Linked DNA regions of Homo sapiens: all the other regions are linked to region 1. Evidence: promoter capture Hi-C in 16 types of primary human blood cells and fetal thymus (Javierre and others, 2016). All regions are on one chromosome and are shown on one strand. Each heading gives the region's core, a stretch centred on a gene start or on the middle of the fragment in contact. The rest is flanking DNA. Distances are from core to core; before and after follow the strand shown.

The links. Contacts are between HindIII fragments. The CHiCAGO score rates a contact against its expected background, and 5 or more counts as called.
Region 2: a contact is called between a fragment that was not itself captured here and the fragment with the promoter of ADAM30 in region 1, in 5 of 17 cell types (M1 macrophages, M2 macrophages, M0 macrophages and 2 more). The highest score is 11.8, in M1 macrophages.
Region 3: a fragment that was not itself captured here is called in contact with the fragment with the promoter of ADAM30 in region 1 in 3 of 17 cell types (M1 macrophages, M0 macrophages and M2 macrophages); the score reaches 8.6 in M1 macrophages.
Region 4: a contact is called between a fragment that was not itself captured here and the fragment with the promoter of ADAM30 in region 1, in 4 of 17 cell types (M0 macrophages, M1 macrophages, M2 macrophages and 1 more). The highest score is 11.0, in M0 macrophages.

Annotation. Positions count from the first base shown.
Region 1 is chr1:119,895,243-119,899,583 of GRCh38, forward strand. It overlaps ADAM30 (ADAM metallopeptidase domain 30), which reads right to left and starts at 1,273. Exons shown (of 1, transcript NM_021794.4): 1 at 1-1,273. The coding sequence starts at 1,094. The HindIII fragment of the contact is 9,342 bases long and covers 1-2,947 here.
Region 2 is chr1:119,763,030-119,766,985 of GRCh38, forward strand. It overlaps HMGCS2 (3-hydroxy-3-methylglutaryl-CoA synthase 2), which reads right to left. Exons shown (of 10, transcript NM_005518.4): 2 at 1,143-1,597. Among named protein-coding and RNA genes, the nearest start is that of HMGCS2, 3.9 kb to the right of the region's middle. The HindIII fragment of the contact is 4,067 bases long and covers 1-3,741 here.
Region 3 is chr1:119,723,994-119,728,385 of GRCh38, forward strand. It overlaps PHGDH (phosphoglycerate dehydrogenase), which reads left to right. Exons shown (of 12, transcript NM_006623.4): 4 at 2,858-2,912; 5 at 3,011-3,109. Among named protein-coding and RNA genes, the nearest start is that of PHGDH, 14 kb to the left of the region's middle. The HindIII fragment of the contact is 1,725 bases long and covers 1,466-3,190 here.
Region 4 is chr1:119,744,132-119,748,000 of GRCh38, forward strand. PHGDH (phosphoglycerate dehydrogenase) reads left to right here. Exons shown (of 12, transcript NM_006623.4): 12 at 1-84. It also overlaps a transcript of HMGCS2 not described here. Among named protein-coding and RNA genes, the nearest start is that of HMGCS2, 23 kb to the right of the region's middle. The HindIII fragment of the contact is 5,020 bases long and covers 1-3,869 here.

The sequences.
Region 1 (4,341 bases), core at 23-2,522:
GAGCCCATGATGCAATTAAGCCTACCCCTACATTGGCAGTATTGTTCATCATGTGACATTCCTACAGCATGACCCAGCTCATGAGCAGACCAGGTAGCAGGGGCAAGGATATTTGTATCTAGTAAAGTACTCACTGATCCAGCATATTCTAGAGAACACACTTTTCCAAACGACCATGCAAGAGCATCATTATATTTTCTTTGAAGATATAAATGTGCCCAATCTGATGACAGGCGAGCATTTAATACACTTTTTTTATATATTACAAATCTGCCTAAAACTTCAGCTAACTCTGGATATCCAACGCGTATTTTGTTAAAATCTGTCCATACTTCAAGAGCCTTTAAGTGTATCCTCATACGAACATCTTGAAAGTAGGTGTCCATAATCCCAGTCAAAAGAATGGCATCATGTATGACTTGAGAAAGATTGTTGTTCACAAACCTATACCTACTTTGATCAAAGAGTAGGATCAATTCCAAGTACTTTGGGTGTTTATAGGATCCAGGAAAGTCCCTTAGCCTCGCCTTATTCTCATAAGGGGCCATCTGCCATTCTATTTCATCATCACTTAAGCCACAAACCTGATTCCCAAACTGCTCTTTCTTCAGGAGATAGACGACATGTTCAAAACTGGGAGAGGCCTTGAGGGGCTCAATTTGGTAATGTTTGGCATCAATGTTAAATACACCTCGGAGACCCCCCATGCATGTGCTTATAGTAGCTTTAGAGTCCAGAGACTCTTTCACGGAGCCCATGTAGTTGCAGTCCTTTGGTATGTAAGGATGATCCTCCAGCAGTTCCCCATGTTCTGTGAAGGAGAAAACGCGCAGATGTCGGGGCAACAGAAGTCTCTTGGGCCACAAATGGAGGACGTGCTTCTTGCCTTTTAACTGCAGTAGGTAGGACACGGGACTGACCACACCCTGCACCTCTCCCCGGAAGCTCAGCTTCTCAGGAATGGTGACTTCATACGAGTCAAACTCCCCTTCAGGGTGAAAAATTACATCTTCGCCAAGAGACTTAAGGAGCATTGTCGGAACTAGTAGAAGGAGCAAACGGCATTGGGAGAGGAAGATCTGCACTGACCTCATGGTCTGTTCCCTACTCAGCCTCAGTTTGCTATTCAGTCCCTGCAACTCTGGCCTCGCGAGTCAGATTTCTGGGGGCCGCCGCTAGAGGCGCCTGAGCTCAAAACCCGGCTCCCCTGGCAGGGTTTCCGGGGGAGCCCGTAGCCTCCCAGGGCTCGGTCTAGCTGGCGTCCGCAATGCGCGCGTGACCTGTCCAACGCATCCAGTTCGTTTTCCGGGCCGTACCGTTGGGCGCAGGTGGAAGAAAGGAGGGAAACGTGGGCGAGAATAAAAGAGAAAAGAGGGGCTGTTGGCACGTGGGTTGGAGAGAGGGTAGAGAACACCATCGGAAATGGAGAAGGAATAGAGAAATAGGAAGAACAAAGGAGAACGTGTTAAAGGCTCACTGTATCTTTGCCTTTACTCTGTGTCTTTACACCTTAGGACACAGGTTGGAATCCGATGTTTTATGGGCCACTGTCCTAACTTCATTGTTGGACATTTCCCAGTTTTCCACTAGGGTTGCTTGTGGCAAAAGAAAGGAGCATCAGAACCAGCAAGAGTGGAAACAGCCTGAAAGTATCAGCGTAGACTCCACACCCCCAGCCCCACTCTGGGCAGTTCCTCTGTCTTCGGCTGCGGCTTCTTTTTAGAGAAGGCCCTGAACCTTAGTTGTGGGCCCAGGCAACAGAAAGGTCCTGAGCTCATTTTGCCTGGGAGTGCTTTCTGCTGTTTGTCTTTGGGGTGCCAGGGGTCAGTGTAATTTTTGTGTGTCCATGTGCAATGGTGGGAAGAACCTAGAAAAAGTGCCTGTTATAAGAGCAAACCCAAGTGCTTTCTGAGAAAGGTAGATAGCTGGTTATGTTCCTAGTCGAGCGATGAGGCTGACTCCACAAAGGAAGAAGCCTCTGGCTCAGAAAATGGAAGGGTTTATCGTCCGTAAAAGGGCAAATCGGAAGGTCATGAGGTGATTCTGAGGGATTCTGATAAGAGAGGAATATTTTCAGTTTTGTTCCTGGGAGATTCCATCTGGCTGAATTACAAGGAAAGGTTAAAAAGGAACAGGCTTGAGTCAGGGAGACTAGTTAAAAGCTCTTGTACCAAGCAATGTTGTCTGTTGGCAGAAAGCATGGCCTTAGGGCTGATAATAAGCAGTACTTATGGAAGACTGGCTCGTTTCATGCTACACACCCCGCTATGCTCTGCATAAATCAGCCCATTAAATCTTCACCATGACCCTAGGTTATAGGTACTACTATTATCACCCATACTTTGCACATGAGGACATGAAAACCGTACCATGGTTCAGAAGGTGGCGTCAGCTGAAGCAATCCCTGTGAACATTTAGGCAACTCTACCCGGAGCCTGTGTTCTTTACTAGTCAACTCTGTTGTCTCTTTAGGGAAGGACAAAAGTTGACAGCTCCAAGAGATTTAAAACCACTTAGACTCTGCTGGACTTAATGCTTGCATGGATTCTCCCAGAATGAAAGAGGCAAAAATGAAAAAGAATGTTGATGTTTCTGGCTTAGGTGTATGTGTGTGTCATGGTTCTAACCACTCAAAGAAGAAAAACATCAGAACAAATAGATTTAGATAAAGGAAATAAATATGAAAAGCTCTGCTTGCAAAATGTAGATTTCCAGGTGCCAGTAAAGGAGCATTGAAGAAGGGATTTCTCAACTGCAGACGAGTAGGCAGCATCCTCTGGGCTGAGATGCCTGAGTTGGAGCTGAACTGGAGTCCTCTGCACAGTGGTGCTGATTGAAGCCATAAAAGCTGATGATGATGCCTCATGGGATGGTGAGGAATGAGCAGAGAAAGACCAGGTTGGATCGCTCAGGAATAGTAGGATTTAAGGTCAGGCTGAAGGAAAGAAGCTTGCAATGACCTGTGAAGTAGTGGATATTGATATAAAAAGAAAGGCAGGGTAACAGGTGATTGCAGAAGCACTTCATGAACGATGTTATGACCAAAAGGTGAAATGCTGAGCAGAGTTCCAGAAACACTGCAATGAGCACAAAGGAGGTTATAGAAACTTTAGTGCAAACTGTTTCGGGGCACTGCTGATGAGCAAAGCCACATACCAGGAGGTTGGAACGTAAATTGGAGGTTAGAAAGAGGAGATCACAAACCTAGACTGCACTTTCAAGAAATTGGGTGAAGGAGAGAGAAAAGGTAAGAAAGTAGCTTGGGAACCATGTGGTAGAAAGAGGACTTGTTAGAGGAAAGAGTCCCTGCTGGAGCCTTGCTCAGCCTCCAGGAGAGGTTGGGTGATGATGCAGCGTGATCCTCCTTGGGGGCATCAGAGCAGGAGGCAGGGGTGGAGCAGACAGCAGGGTAGCAGGCAGTGAAGCTATGAGTGCAGTGAGAAAATAAGGGAGAGCTAGTCAGAAGGCTTCAGCTTTCTCTGTGACGTCAGCTGCTGGGAGTGTAGGGGTGATAGAGCTGAAAGAGATGAAGAAGAGAGCTCAGGAGACAGAGGACAAGGGAAAAATAAAAGTATCACCAAGTGTGTTGAGGGCCTAATTCAGGTTGGAAACCAGAAATTGCAGTTTCCTATCTGTAAATTAATTTGATTTTCTCAAGCAACACCCAGCAGCCTAAATTGGGGAGGGCAATTTGAATATATCTTCTGGATCTATTCTATTTAATCAAATCATCATTTTCATCTCTGTACCATTTTTCTTTGGGCTGTTATAGAATTTCTTGAAGAAAAACACTAATTCATCAACTCCCATTGCTACAATATAATTTGTGTGCTAAACGCAGATGTGTAGCATCTGAGTGTTGGACCCTGAGCCTTGTGTAAACAGCCTGCTTTGAAATATTTCTCTTTATTTATGGAAATTATACATGTGTATCACAAAGGATACAAATAACCCTGAATGATAATAGAGTAACAAATGAAAGCCTCCATTATCCTCCAACCCTGCATGCTTGTCTAATACACTCCCCTCCGCAGATGTGACTGATAAGTATAATTCTTTCTCCATTTTCTGATATGTCTTTACAAGTATAGAAACTATGTAATATTTAACGGCATTATGCCAAGTGAAATAAACCATACCCAAAAAGATGAATACTGTATCATCTCACTTATATGTGGAATAAAATAATCAAAGTCATAGAAGCAGAGAGTAGAATGGTAGTTTCCAGGTCCTGGGGGGAGGATGAAATGAGGTGATGGTCAAAGGGTACAAAGTTTCAGCTGTGCAAGATAAACAACTTCTAGAGATCCATAATACAGTACAGTGCCTATAGCCAACAGT
Region 2 (3,956 bases), core at 458-2,957, 130 kb before region 1:
ACAAGTATCAAGTAGGAGAGGCACTTTAAGAACAGACTTGATGATGTAGACTGGACCATCCCATGTCAGTGGAATTGTTAATGATGGAGCCAGGTAGGGCAGTTGGAAAAGCCTGGAATGAACTTTTGTAATTGCACGGTCTTGCTGCATGTACAGAGATAAACTGTTACACTCCTCTTGACCTCTTTTTTCTAAAGCAAAAGATATTGAATTAGATGATCTCTGAGGACTCTGCCAATATTAAGGCTTTTTGATTAATTTTATAATTAATGCTTATCATGGTTTCTAAGGTTTTTAATCCTAGTTTCAAACTTAGTAAATATAGAGTGTCTTAACTACTGCCAACATACTGTTTTTTCACATCTTTATGAAAATTTCACATTTCTATGAATTATTTTATTCAGTCCTCTTATAAGTTAAGCAAGGCAGATAGGCAAATAACCCTGAGGCTCAAAGAGGTTCAGGAATTTATCAATGATTATTGATAGAGCTATGGCTTCAAGCTCTCATACTGTACTGTTTCCCTTGAATCATTTCTTGCTGTAACAACAGGGGTTAGTCCTCAAATATAGCACTGGGAGAAGATATAAGTAAGATACAAGGTAATGTTAATATGTTAAGCAAAAAGCAATATGCAAGGAGCCACCTAAGGGAGAAAGAGTAGAAATACTCACAGTCTATCTTGTGGTTTTCTGGGCCTGTTTCTATGAAGGTGTTTTTTTCCCGAACATCTAAACTTGCATACATCTTTCAACATCACCAATCTCTCAGAGACTTAGGACATGTTTAAGAGAAACAGGTACGGTAAAATAGGAAATATGTCAGATGTGGTTTGGCATTTTTGCCTCTGCCACTCACTATGTGTAAGCTATCAGATCTTCCATGTTCTCTTCTATAAATCTGGTATAATACACACTTCCTAGGCTGTTGTAAGAATTAAATGAATGGCTATGTGAACATGCTACCTAACTGTAAAGCTATATAAGTCTAAGTGGTTATTGTGGGATGATAGCAGCAGCTGTGTGAATATATTGTCCTTCCTTCACTAGATGAAGCCACCTGGGGAACTGAAAAGCAAAACTGGTAATATTCAGCCTCCAATTCCAGCACCTTTCTTACATAAGGTTCGTGGCCGTACATACCATCCCAGGAACTGGACTCCATCCAGTTGGCAGCATTGAAGAGGGAGGCAGTACCACCGTAGCAGGCATTGGTGGTATCTATGCCCTCAATATCAGTATTGCCTGAATCCTGGAAGAGTTCCATGAGCACTGTTTTGACAGCTTTGGACTTGTCAATGATGGTCTCAGTGCCTACTTCCAGCCTGCCCACAGAGTCCCATGGGAGCTGTATGCGCTCCATCAGCCGTTGCACCACCGTCAGGCACAGGGAGTTGATGTCCTCTTGGACTGAGCAGAAGCCCATACGGGTCTGGCCCAAGCCCACTGTATACTTTCCTGCTTCCACATTGTTATACTTCTCCAGGTCAGTTTGGTCCACATATTGGGCTGGGAAGTAGACCTCCAGGGCCAGGATGCCCACGTCCTTTGGCCAAGTATCTGTTTTGGCCAGGGGGACAGCAGAGGCTGTAGAAAACCTGTGATGGAGATAACAGTCAAACTCCCACTAATGGTCTGTAGACAATTTCCTCAAAAGACAGTAACATAGCAATCATTTAATTAATTTTCTATATTTTGAAGCTATGTTATCAGATGACTACAAATTTAGTATTGTTATTATCTTTTCATTGAATTGACCCTTCTATACTTATTAAATATCCCTTTTCATCTTTGTGATATTCTTGGCATAAAGTTTCCTTTCCTGACGTCGATATAGCTACACTAGCTTTTTGCTTACTGTTTCCATGGTACATCTTTTTCTGTCCCTTTTTACTTTCAACTTCTTAACGTCTTTATCTTTAACATACATCTCTTGTGATCGGTATATATATTTTAGTCCTTTAAAAAAATTTTAATAAGTCTAACAATAGTGGTGTTTTAATTTGAGTATTTCATCCATTTATATTTGTTGTAATTACTAATATAGTTGGAACTAAATCTTTTTTTTTCTCTTTTTTGAGACGGAGTCTCACTCTGTCACCCGGAGTCTCACTCTGTCACCCAAGCTGGAGTGCAGTGGCGTGATCTCTGCTCACTGCAAGCTCCGCCTCCTGGGTTCACACCATTCTCCTGCCTCAGCCTCCTGAGTAGCTGGGACTACAGGCACCTGCCACCACGCCCAGCTAATTTTTTGTATTTTTAGTAGAGACAGGGTTTCACCGTGTTAGCCAGGATGGTCTCGATCTCCTGATCTCGGTCTTCCAAAGTGCTGGGATTACAGGCGTGAGCCACCACGCCCAGCCGGAACTAAGTCTATTTTTTTATTTGTTTCTATTTGTCTCATTTGTTCTTTGTTCTTTTATTCCTCCTTTCCCATATCCTTTTAGAGTAAGCAAATATTTATTATTCATTTTATACCCTCTTTTCCTTTTACTGGTGACCTTAAAGATTATAACATGCATAATTGGCTTGTTGTAATCTTACTTAAATTAATACTTATCTTACTTTTGGAACACTGCAAAAACTTTAGGTTGACTTTATTTACTCTCTGCATCCTTTTGAACCATTATTGTCATATACTTTACTTCTACATGTTATAAGCCCTTATAGGGCATAATTATACAATCTTTACTCATTTTAAAAGTGTACCTCTAATTACATGTCTTTCTCCTTTCTTTTTTCTACACAAGAACATACCCACTGTTTTCCTACTTTTAAGTAAGTTTTCTGCTAGCTGATTTTTCTGATAGGGCCTTCCAATGTTTATTGAGCACACCCAACACAGTTCTAGTCCAAATACACAGCAGTGAATAAGACATGCATTGTGCCCATAAAGAGAGCACAGCCCAGTGAAAGAAGCAGACATTTTACAGCTAAATATGCAGGGAACACAGACAGCAGAAAGAGCAATTCTAAACGAGAGCAGAGGAAAAAAGGAAGGGGAAGGAGTCAGCAGAAGAAGGGAGAGATGATCTATTTCTTTTCTGGACCAATTCACTTCTCTTTAACCCAGATTCTTAATATCCCTGGCGAAAATCTGTGTTCCCTTTTGTATGGGAGCATACTGGAGGTGAACTTGGTGATCTCTGTACTGCTCCCATACAAAAGTACTTTATACCTTCTGTTCACTTTAGCAACATTCTTCATTTTATAGTTAGTGAAACCAAGGCACACACTGGTAAAGTGATGCACTCAGGGTAACTTCATAGTTTCTCACGTGTTAGAAATACTCTGTCCCTTCACTGCCCTGGGTGCCAGGCTTATAAATTTAGCTCCATTCTACGGGAGCTGGAACTCAGATTGAATGTGTCTATCAATCATCTTTGGGATTCTGAGCCTCTGGTAGAATTCTAGAGCCTCTCCCAGCAGCAAGGTCACTTCTAAGGACAGCTGTGAGGCAAAAGTGGATCATATGATCACAAGATAGTGAGGCAGAATGATAAATACACATTATATCTGACAGGAGAGGTTTGGAGTTTATTTATCTTCCCTATTTATTTGACTCCCTCCAAATAACTGGAGTTTGTACTCTCAAATATTTACGGAGGAGCTTCCCCAGTACCCGGGAGCTAATGGTTAAGCCAGCGCTTGTCCTGCCAGCTTGGCTGCCTTTCTCTCAGCCTCATTCTCGCTCTGACTTCTCTGGGCTGGCTCCCTCCCTTTCTTCCCAGTTAGAAATCAAAGCTTGCAAGAAGAAGCTTAGAATGGGTCAGTTGGTAACTTTTGTAGCTGTCTTGGTGGGGAGCTATTTCTAGAAATGGATTATAAAGCCTTGAAGAAAATTAACACGGAGAGGCTTCCAGAAGCTTCAGCCCACCGAAGTTAAGAGTATCCTTCTCATCTTGTGCTTTCTCTAAAGAATGATCACTTTGTGTAATTTTAAATCATTTTTCTCCT
Region 3 (4,392 bases), core at 1,078-3,577, 170 kb before region 1:
TTCATAACACAATGGAACTCAAATGGGCAAGACTCTTGCTCTTCTAGCAGGAGTTCCAGGCCTCTTGAGTGGATGGGGCAGCCTAGAAATCAAATGGTTGTGGCACAGAATGTGCTTGAGTCTCAGTGTGTTGGTTAGTAATTTGGCAAAACTGATTGCATGGAGCACTTCTGTTGAACAGGCAATTCAAGCATTTATGTGGTCAAGGGGAAGAACAAGGCTCCCAATAAACAGGGTAGGAAGTTGTTCTAGGTCCCTTTGAAGCTCCATGGATTCCCTAAACCAGCGGACCTAGGCATCAAGGACTCCTTGTTTCTCTACTCAGGCCTGAAACCTTCCGGGACCAAGAAATTACTTTTCCCATGGCGAGACCTGCTTTCCCTCCTGCTGGAGGAGGATCTGGGGGAATTTACCTCTGCTCTAACTCCTCCCTGCAGTTTCCATCTGAGCTCTCTGGTATTCACTGATATTCACTGGTAGGTGAAAGGAGGCAGTGGGGGGAAAGGAGAAACAGGGATAGCTTACACAGCAGTAGGGTCTCAGCCTAGAAGGGGCCCCCAGGCTGGCAGCCGGGTTCTCCCAGAACATCTAGGCTGAGTGTCTCTCCCCCTGGAGAAGTACAGAAGCCTGGCACCCTGGTTTCACTTCAGCTATTACCTTCAGGGATTTTTTTTTTTTTTTTTGAGTAAGGGAAAAGATCTCAATGTGGCTTTCTGATTAATTACCTCACTTTTTTTCTGGAGGTGGAAGGAAAGGATTGGGAGCCAGCAATACTTTCCCTCCTTTTCCAGGACCAGCTTTGTTTAAAGGAATCGGTGAAATGCTGTGGTTTAAAAGAAGCTCCCCATTGTCAACTGCTCACCATGACCTCACTCATCAAAGGTGCATCAAAACTAGGAAACACGCACACCCTATTGGGAAGGAATGCGTTCGTTTCATCAGACTGTTCCTAGCAGGGAGGACGGTAGGAGAGTGTGGGTGCCTATATGTAGACTCTACAGGATTGGGCAATGTGGGTGGAGAGCAGGCGTGGCTGGGCCTCACAGTAGGGACTTTGAGCAGATGGCGGGGGCTCCTGAGGTGCAGAAGAACAGCACACAGAAAGGAAGGAAGGAGAGAATCAACAAATGTAGGTTTCACCATTTTTGCCTGCTTTACCATCTCCTCCTCTAGTAAGTCAGGCCAGCAACCATTTAATTATTGTGAGGACCCTCGCCCACATTAGAGTCCTCTCCAGTCTGGCCTGATGAGGATTCCAAAGCATTGAAACCTGGAGAGGCTCCATGATCAGCTGGGAGCAGCAGCCAGAGAAAAGGGTTAGGGATTTCTTGTGTTCTGTGGTGCCGCACGCATACATCTTAGATAGCACTGTGGAGTCTGGTGGGAAGAAAATAGGATGTGAGGGAGAGGAGAGAGGGGCCAGGTGGGGCTCTGTCTCACTAGGTCAAAGGCATTTTATCAGGCAAGCTTTCCCAAGAAGTGAACAGTTCCTCAAGGCAAGTCCCTGTCCTTATTACCTGCCTGATGGGTCAGAGCAGTGAGGTGAATGCAGCTTGTCCCCCATGTGGCTTGGTACTGAAGTTCTTCTGAGTTTACCCATAAGATCGTGCGCCTCTGTGATGGAGGACAGATTCCACCTTCAGCCTTACCCTCAGATGGAGATCAATGTCCTAGTGATGTGTAGAGATGAGAGAATGTTTTTGTGTTAGAAGTTAGTGAAGTGAAAGCACGGAAGTAGCAGCTTGAGATTTCTCTTTTTGCACGCTCGCTCACTCTGAGGTTTTTGGCATCAGGTTAAAGGCCTACATTTAAGTACTCAGGAGGCTGGCCGTGCTGGGGTTGACTTTGCTGGCTTTGAATCTGTTCAAGTGCCTCCAGTTGGGTGATCTGGGGAGAACTGTTTAACCTCCAGTGCCTCCCTCCGTGCAGCTGTGAATGTTAGAGGAGTTAATGTGTGTCTAAACATTTCTTTTAGGATGTCTAAAATAAAGTGCTCCTTAAACATTGTTTCTCAAATCTTCCTTTTTTGCCTCCAGAGATGTGTTGATGACCCATGCCCACAGGACATATATCGCCCTTTGACCTCTAATGTTGCCCTAATTGCCACTTCCTCTGTCTCCTCCAGAAAACACAGATGTAGACTCAGACTTCCATCTGGACTAATAGGAGGAGACAGGCTGTGAAGAGTGTGTGTGTGTGTGTGTGTGTGTGTGTGTGTGTGTGTGTGTGTGTTGGTGGTGGTGGGACAGGAAGGTGGTGCGGATGTTTAAAAATGTTGGGACCACGCATTCAGGACAGAATGGAAGTGTCTGGGCTTTGGCATCCACCCACCCACTCTAGGGTCCAGACTAGTCTAAGACCCTCGGGGTTAAGAAACTCTCAAGGAAGCATAGGTAATTAGGTGTCCTCTTCATAATAGTAGAAGACGTCATAGGTTATGGTGCTGGATGAGATAGGTAGATCAAAATAATTCCTTGAGCTTCTGGAGTACTCGATGTCATCAGAGTTGCCCAGTACCCCACTCAGTTATCCCTACAGACCCTGGAGGATTGGCGATCGCTTAAAGTAAAAAACTCACTCTGGTTGATGCCTCAGTGGCTGAGGTGGAATCCATACCTCCTCCCAGATGCCTGGCTGGTCACAGAAATCCCAGGCTTTCTAAGTCAGATCTTGCCAAGGGTTTCTCTCTTCTGTTTTCCCTTTATCCCCCATCAGTGTTCCTAAACCTGAACCCCCAGACCCAGTTCTTGGGGAAGTGGCTGTCATGGGCAGTGACTGTGCAAACCTGATGTTGCATCTCCTTCCTGGGCTGGCGGGAGTCCGAATGGACCCTCTGAACCTGTGTCTATCCTTGCAGGCAGATTCCCCAGGCGACGGCTTCGATGAAGGACGGCAAATGGGAGCGGAAGAAGGTGAGCAGCGGCCTTGACTCGCCCCACCTGGGCTCAGGGCCCGGGGTCCACTCATGTTGCTGACTTCAGCTTCTTTCCTTTTGCCTGTTTGGTTGCAGTTCATGGGAACAGAGCTGAATGGAAAGACCCTGGGAATTCTTGGCCTGGGCAGGATTGGGAGAGAGGTAGCTACCCGGATGCAGTCCTTTGGGATGAAGGTAAGATGTTGCTGGAACCCTGTGATGTGGGACTTTCTGCAGCAATTTTGGGAAAGGCAGCATGTCTGGGCAGAAGCCAGAAGCTTTGTTCTAGGAGGGTCTGACCCTCTCTTGGAGCCCCCATCTAAATAAGTGTTAAAGTCAAGGAGGGAGAGAACACTGGCCTGCTGATCTGGACTCAAAAGCTGGAAATACTTGGTGGGGGTCCTTTAGCTCTCTGGTGAGTGAATAGCCCTGAGTCCCAGTGAACCAGGTGTTGATGGCTCTTTTGAGACTTTGGTTCCTGTCTTCTTAGTTTAAAAGAATTTAAACAAGAGACACGGTGCAGCATTGAGGAGTTTATTGCAAAGGAAAAAGAATATTTTGAAAGTTAAGTGCAGAGTAGACAGTACACCTCGGGAGAGAGAGAATTCAGGGTGGGCTGCTCATAAGAGTGAGGCAGTGTTGGCCGGGCGCGGTGGCTCACGCCTGTAATCCAGCACTTTGGGAGGCCGAGGCAGGCAGATCATGAGGTCAGGAGATCAAGACCATCCTGGATAACATGGTGAAACCGCATCGCTACTAAAAAAAAAAAAAAAAAAATTAGCCGGGCGTGGTGGCGGGCGCCTGTAGTCCCAGCTACTTGGGAGGCTGAGGCAGGAGAATGGCGTGAACCCGGGAGGCGGAGCTTGCAGTGAGCCGAGATCATGCCACTGCACTCCAGCCTGGGCGACAGAGCGAGACTCCGTCTTAAAAAACAGAAACAAAAACAAAAACGAATGAGGCAGTGTTGATTATTGCTGGAGAAACTCCCTTTATAGGAGTTTTACATGATTATTCATAAGGAGGTGGGAAGAGCTGTTACTAGTAAGCATGTTTTGGGTGGTCCTCTGGGTGCACATGAGTAGTAGCTGTACATTCTTGTTCATTTGGCACATGTCTTATTAGCATCTTAAATCTCCACCCAGGAGTGTGTTTTTTACTATTATAATGAGCCAGGGGGTCAGTTTGAGGACAGGAAAAATCAAAGTGCACAGGCTGTCTAGATGGGAAGTTCCCTACTGAAGATAGCTTTGCTTGAATGAGCTCAGTTAGAATATGAATACCGAGGCTTATTGTGTTGACTATAGGATCACCAAGGTTGCTGCACTTCCTTGATTACCTATCCTGCCTCACAGGGAGGGTGCTTGTGTCCTGCCCATTCTTTCTTTCCTTCCTGCTTTTGTTTTGTCTGCTTTCCTGTGATAATTTAGAAAACAGGAACAAGTTTATGGCCTCACAGTAGAGCCTTACATCCATTGTCC
Region 4 (3,869 bases), core at 929-3,428, 150 kb before region 1:
TGAACGCGGGCCTCTGACACTGCTTACACTGCACTCTGACCCTGTAGTACAGCAATAACCGTCTAATAAAGAGCCTACCCCCAACTCCTTCTGCACTTTTGTGTGGTCATTATCCTAAAGCGCCACCAGAGGGCGTCCAAAGGCAGACGTAGGGTTTGGTTTAGACTGCGGGAGCGGAGCGGGTGTGGGGGAAGATGGGGATGAGCAAATGGCTTGGTTGAGTTCTTTGAAGGTGATCCCTCTCTTGTCTGCCGAAGGTTACTCAGAGGCACTTTTACAGGAGCAAAGCTCAATGTATTTCACAGTGCTACGGTATTTCAGACCCCTTCCATCTGGGAATATACATGCACGTTAATAAGTAAGATTCAACACACAAGCCCAGCATTATGTACCAGGCACTGGGCTAGGTGCTTTACTTTAAGAGGAGAATTCAAACCTGACCCTTTTTCCATAGAAGTCTGGTGGGAGGGACAGAGCATGCAGAGGTGACTGGAAGCAGTGAGTGATGCTACAACAGAGGTGTATAGGAAATTCTCTAGAGTCCAAAGGAGGAAGTAATTTGAGCTGAGGATATTGGTGTCTCAGGAGATGTTTAGAAGGATTTCATAAGGGAAAGAAAGTGTAAAATTATGGGGGTATGAGACTATTTGGCAAGTTCACAAAGCAAGGTCAGTGTGGGTTGGTGAACATGTCACTTTTTTTTGAAAGATGATTTTCATGCAAAATACAGCTGAACGGCACTCTACCCAAAAGATTCACTTCAGGGAATTTTTTTCCCCATTAATAAGGGATGATCCATTCTTACTGTGTGCCCAGTAGTGTCTGTTTCTGAGATTCCTGGCCTGGCTAAGAAGGCTTGACACAGGGCAGCTGCTTGGCACTGGCAGGGGCGAGTCCAGCACTCTGGCCTCCTTAGTTTTGTGATGGAGCTAAGCATCAATAAGAACTCCAGCAGTAAGGGCTGTGTTAGTGTCTGCAGTGAACTCAGAGGGGTTGGCCTTGCTGTAGCTCACCTTGAAGGGAATGGGCCTGGTTGTGAATGTCATGGTCAACTCTGGACAGCTGTCTGACTGGGAACTCAGTGTTTAATTATCCTAGACCTTTGTTTCCTCATCTGTGGGAGGGCTAATGGTGCCTCTCACAGAACTGCAATGAGAATTTACTGGATTAAACAGTGACTTACGGGAAGTGCCAGGAGCACTTGGTGAATGTTGGTTTCTTCATCCTATGTTAGTCTGAGAGCAGACAGGCAGGTCTCAATTCTTTACATAGAACCAACCCCATGAACCAAATAGTTCTCAACATGACCTCATTGCAATTATGTTCAGCCAGATCTAGACACTGGGTGTCCTGACATCAGACAACCCATTCTCTCCAACTGGAAATATACCTGTGCCTCACATGGCATCCACTGAGGTCACTTGAGTGCACTGATGGATAGAAAAACAGGCTGAAATTTATGAAGTTAAAAATTCAGTTAAAAATTGAGCTCAATGTTTAGCCTCTCAGCCTCCTTCCTCATAAGCCCCTAAACAAATCATGTTCTGTGCACTAAGGTCTTCGGAACAGTACTAGAAACGCAGATTACTTGAGCATCTCAAAATATCTTCCTAGACTGGGTCATGAAAGAGGGCATGGGACGATCTTATCGTATCACGTCTCCCATGGCTGTCCACATGACCTCTCCCAAACTTAAAGGGCAGGATTCGTTGTAAAATTCAGCTGGTTTCTTTAGGAAACTCTGTAATATTTTTCATAATAGCTGCATCAATTTACATTCCCATCAACAGTCTAGAAAGTTTCTCCTTTTCTCCACATCTTTACCAACACTTGCTATCTCTTGTCTTTTTGGTAATAGCCATCTTAACAGGTGTGAGGTGGTATCTCACCGTGGTTTTGATTTGCATTTCCCTGATGACTAAGTAAATAGGCCAGACACAAAAAGAAAATTATTGCACTTACTCATTTATATGTGGAATCCCCCCCCAAAAAAGAGGTCAAATATATTGACATAGGAACTAGAAAAGTAGTTGAGGGGGGTGTCTAGGGAGATACAGGTCAAAGAATGTAAAGTAGAAAATACATAGGGTGAGTAAGTCAAAAGATCTGATGTACAACCTGAGGACTATAGTTAATAACAGTGTATTGTACTGAGGATTTTTCCTAAATTAGTAGATTGCAGCTGCTCTTGCCATGGTGGCGGGGGATGGGTAACTTTGTAAAATAATGAATATGTTAATTTGTTCCGTTACAGTAACCATTTTACTACATATATATATCTTACAACGTCATGTTCTATCCCTCAAATATATACAATGAAATTTTTGAAAAATCCAGCTAGGGCTACAGGGAGGGTGCCATGGACTCCCTCATGTTCTTTGTGGCATGTGGCATCTCTTCACTGCCCCTTTAGAGTAGAAGTTCATTCTTGTGCACACACAGCAGAAGGCTGGCTGTGAGCTCAGGGTGGAGGCAGGGCAAAAGCTGGGCCACGCACAGAATCTGCCTCAATGTGCTGACTCCTGAAGTTGTGATCAGTGTGTCCCCCTAGAGCTTGGGCTTGTCTCATGGTCAGTGGCGGGGCCATCTTTTGCATCAGTTTTAACATCACATGTTGAGTATTCCCGTTTGAATGAGTGTATCATAGCCCAACACTTGCCCAATCTGCCGTCCTCTCTCCTGCCCTAGGTCACCCTGTGTGAATTTTTGCCCACAGGGAAAGTCTTTATTTGTATGGTATCTGTAGACTTTAGGGTGAAAATGTTGACTGAGCCATTGGCAACTCATTCCCTCGTGTGCTGACCTTACATGGGGGAGAGGGCTTTGTTCAGAGCAGGCAGGCATCAGTGTCCCAGAGCTGCCAGAGGAAGGCCTCGGGCTCAGTATAAAAGTTGGTGAATAAGGAAGTTGGAGGGAGCCAGTGCTGATGCCCAGCTGGTGTGTGGGCTGTGGGCAGTGTCCATTCAATTGGTCAGCCCTTGACAACCTGGTTGTCGAATGTTTAATATCATTCCATTTGTGCTCAAATGCCTCCCTAGTGGAGACAGGCCTGGCCTCTGATGCAGGAAGTATGGGAAGTTCTGGTTGCTGAGGCTGACTGAGGCTGATGGAGAGAGTTTCAGCACCAACACTGCACAGTGAGCTTCTGTGTGGATAGAAGGCCAGGCCCGAGGCCTCTTGTCTCCAGAGCTAAGGTTAGTGCTGGGTTTTCTCCCCTGCACACAGATACCGAAAGGCACATGTTGTTCTGCTAGGGATGCCAACCAGGTTGAGGGCCCCTAAACATCTTGCTGAGGAGGTGCAGGCAGCAAGAGGGTAGCAAAGAGGGGCTGCTAAGCAGCGGCTGCAGCTGGTGTGATGAGTAGAGTTTTGCAGGCACCTTGAGAGAGGCCTGGGAAGGCAGTCAGCTAATGCTGGATTCTCTGAGCAAATTGGGGCTTATCTGGGATTTGTTGTGACATGAACAGCCTTGAGCAAAACAGTGAAGGGAACAGACCCAGCTTCTCATTCCTGTGGGGCCATTCTTAAGCGCTCCCTGAGGCTTAAGGGAGCCTTAAGCCTCCCCTGCTTCTCCTCCTCCTCCTCCTCCCCTCCTCCTCCCCTGCCCCCACCAGCTCTGCTCCCCGCCAATGGAAAGCATCCTCTCTCTTTTCCAAGGTGCCCTTTCCTCATGGGGGTGACTGAGGAAACTTTCTAAAAGGAAGTGATGACAACACCCTGATACTTTCCCTCTCCTCCCACTCCCGTCCTCAGCTCAATCCCCATCTGCCTGAACCATTGCTATTTTATAAGAGGACCCTAGAAGAAGCAGTGCCCTCCCCCAAGGGGGAAAGATCCTGTAATGGAATAATTTCCTGCCAGGCATCAAA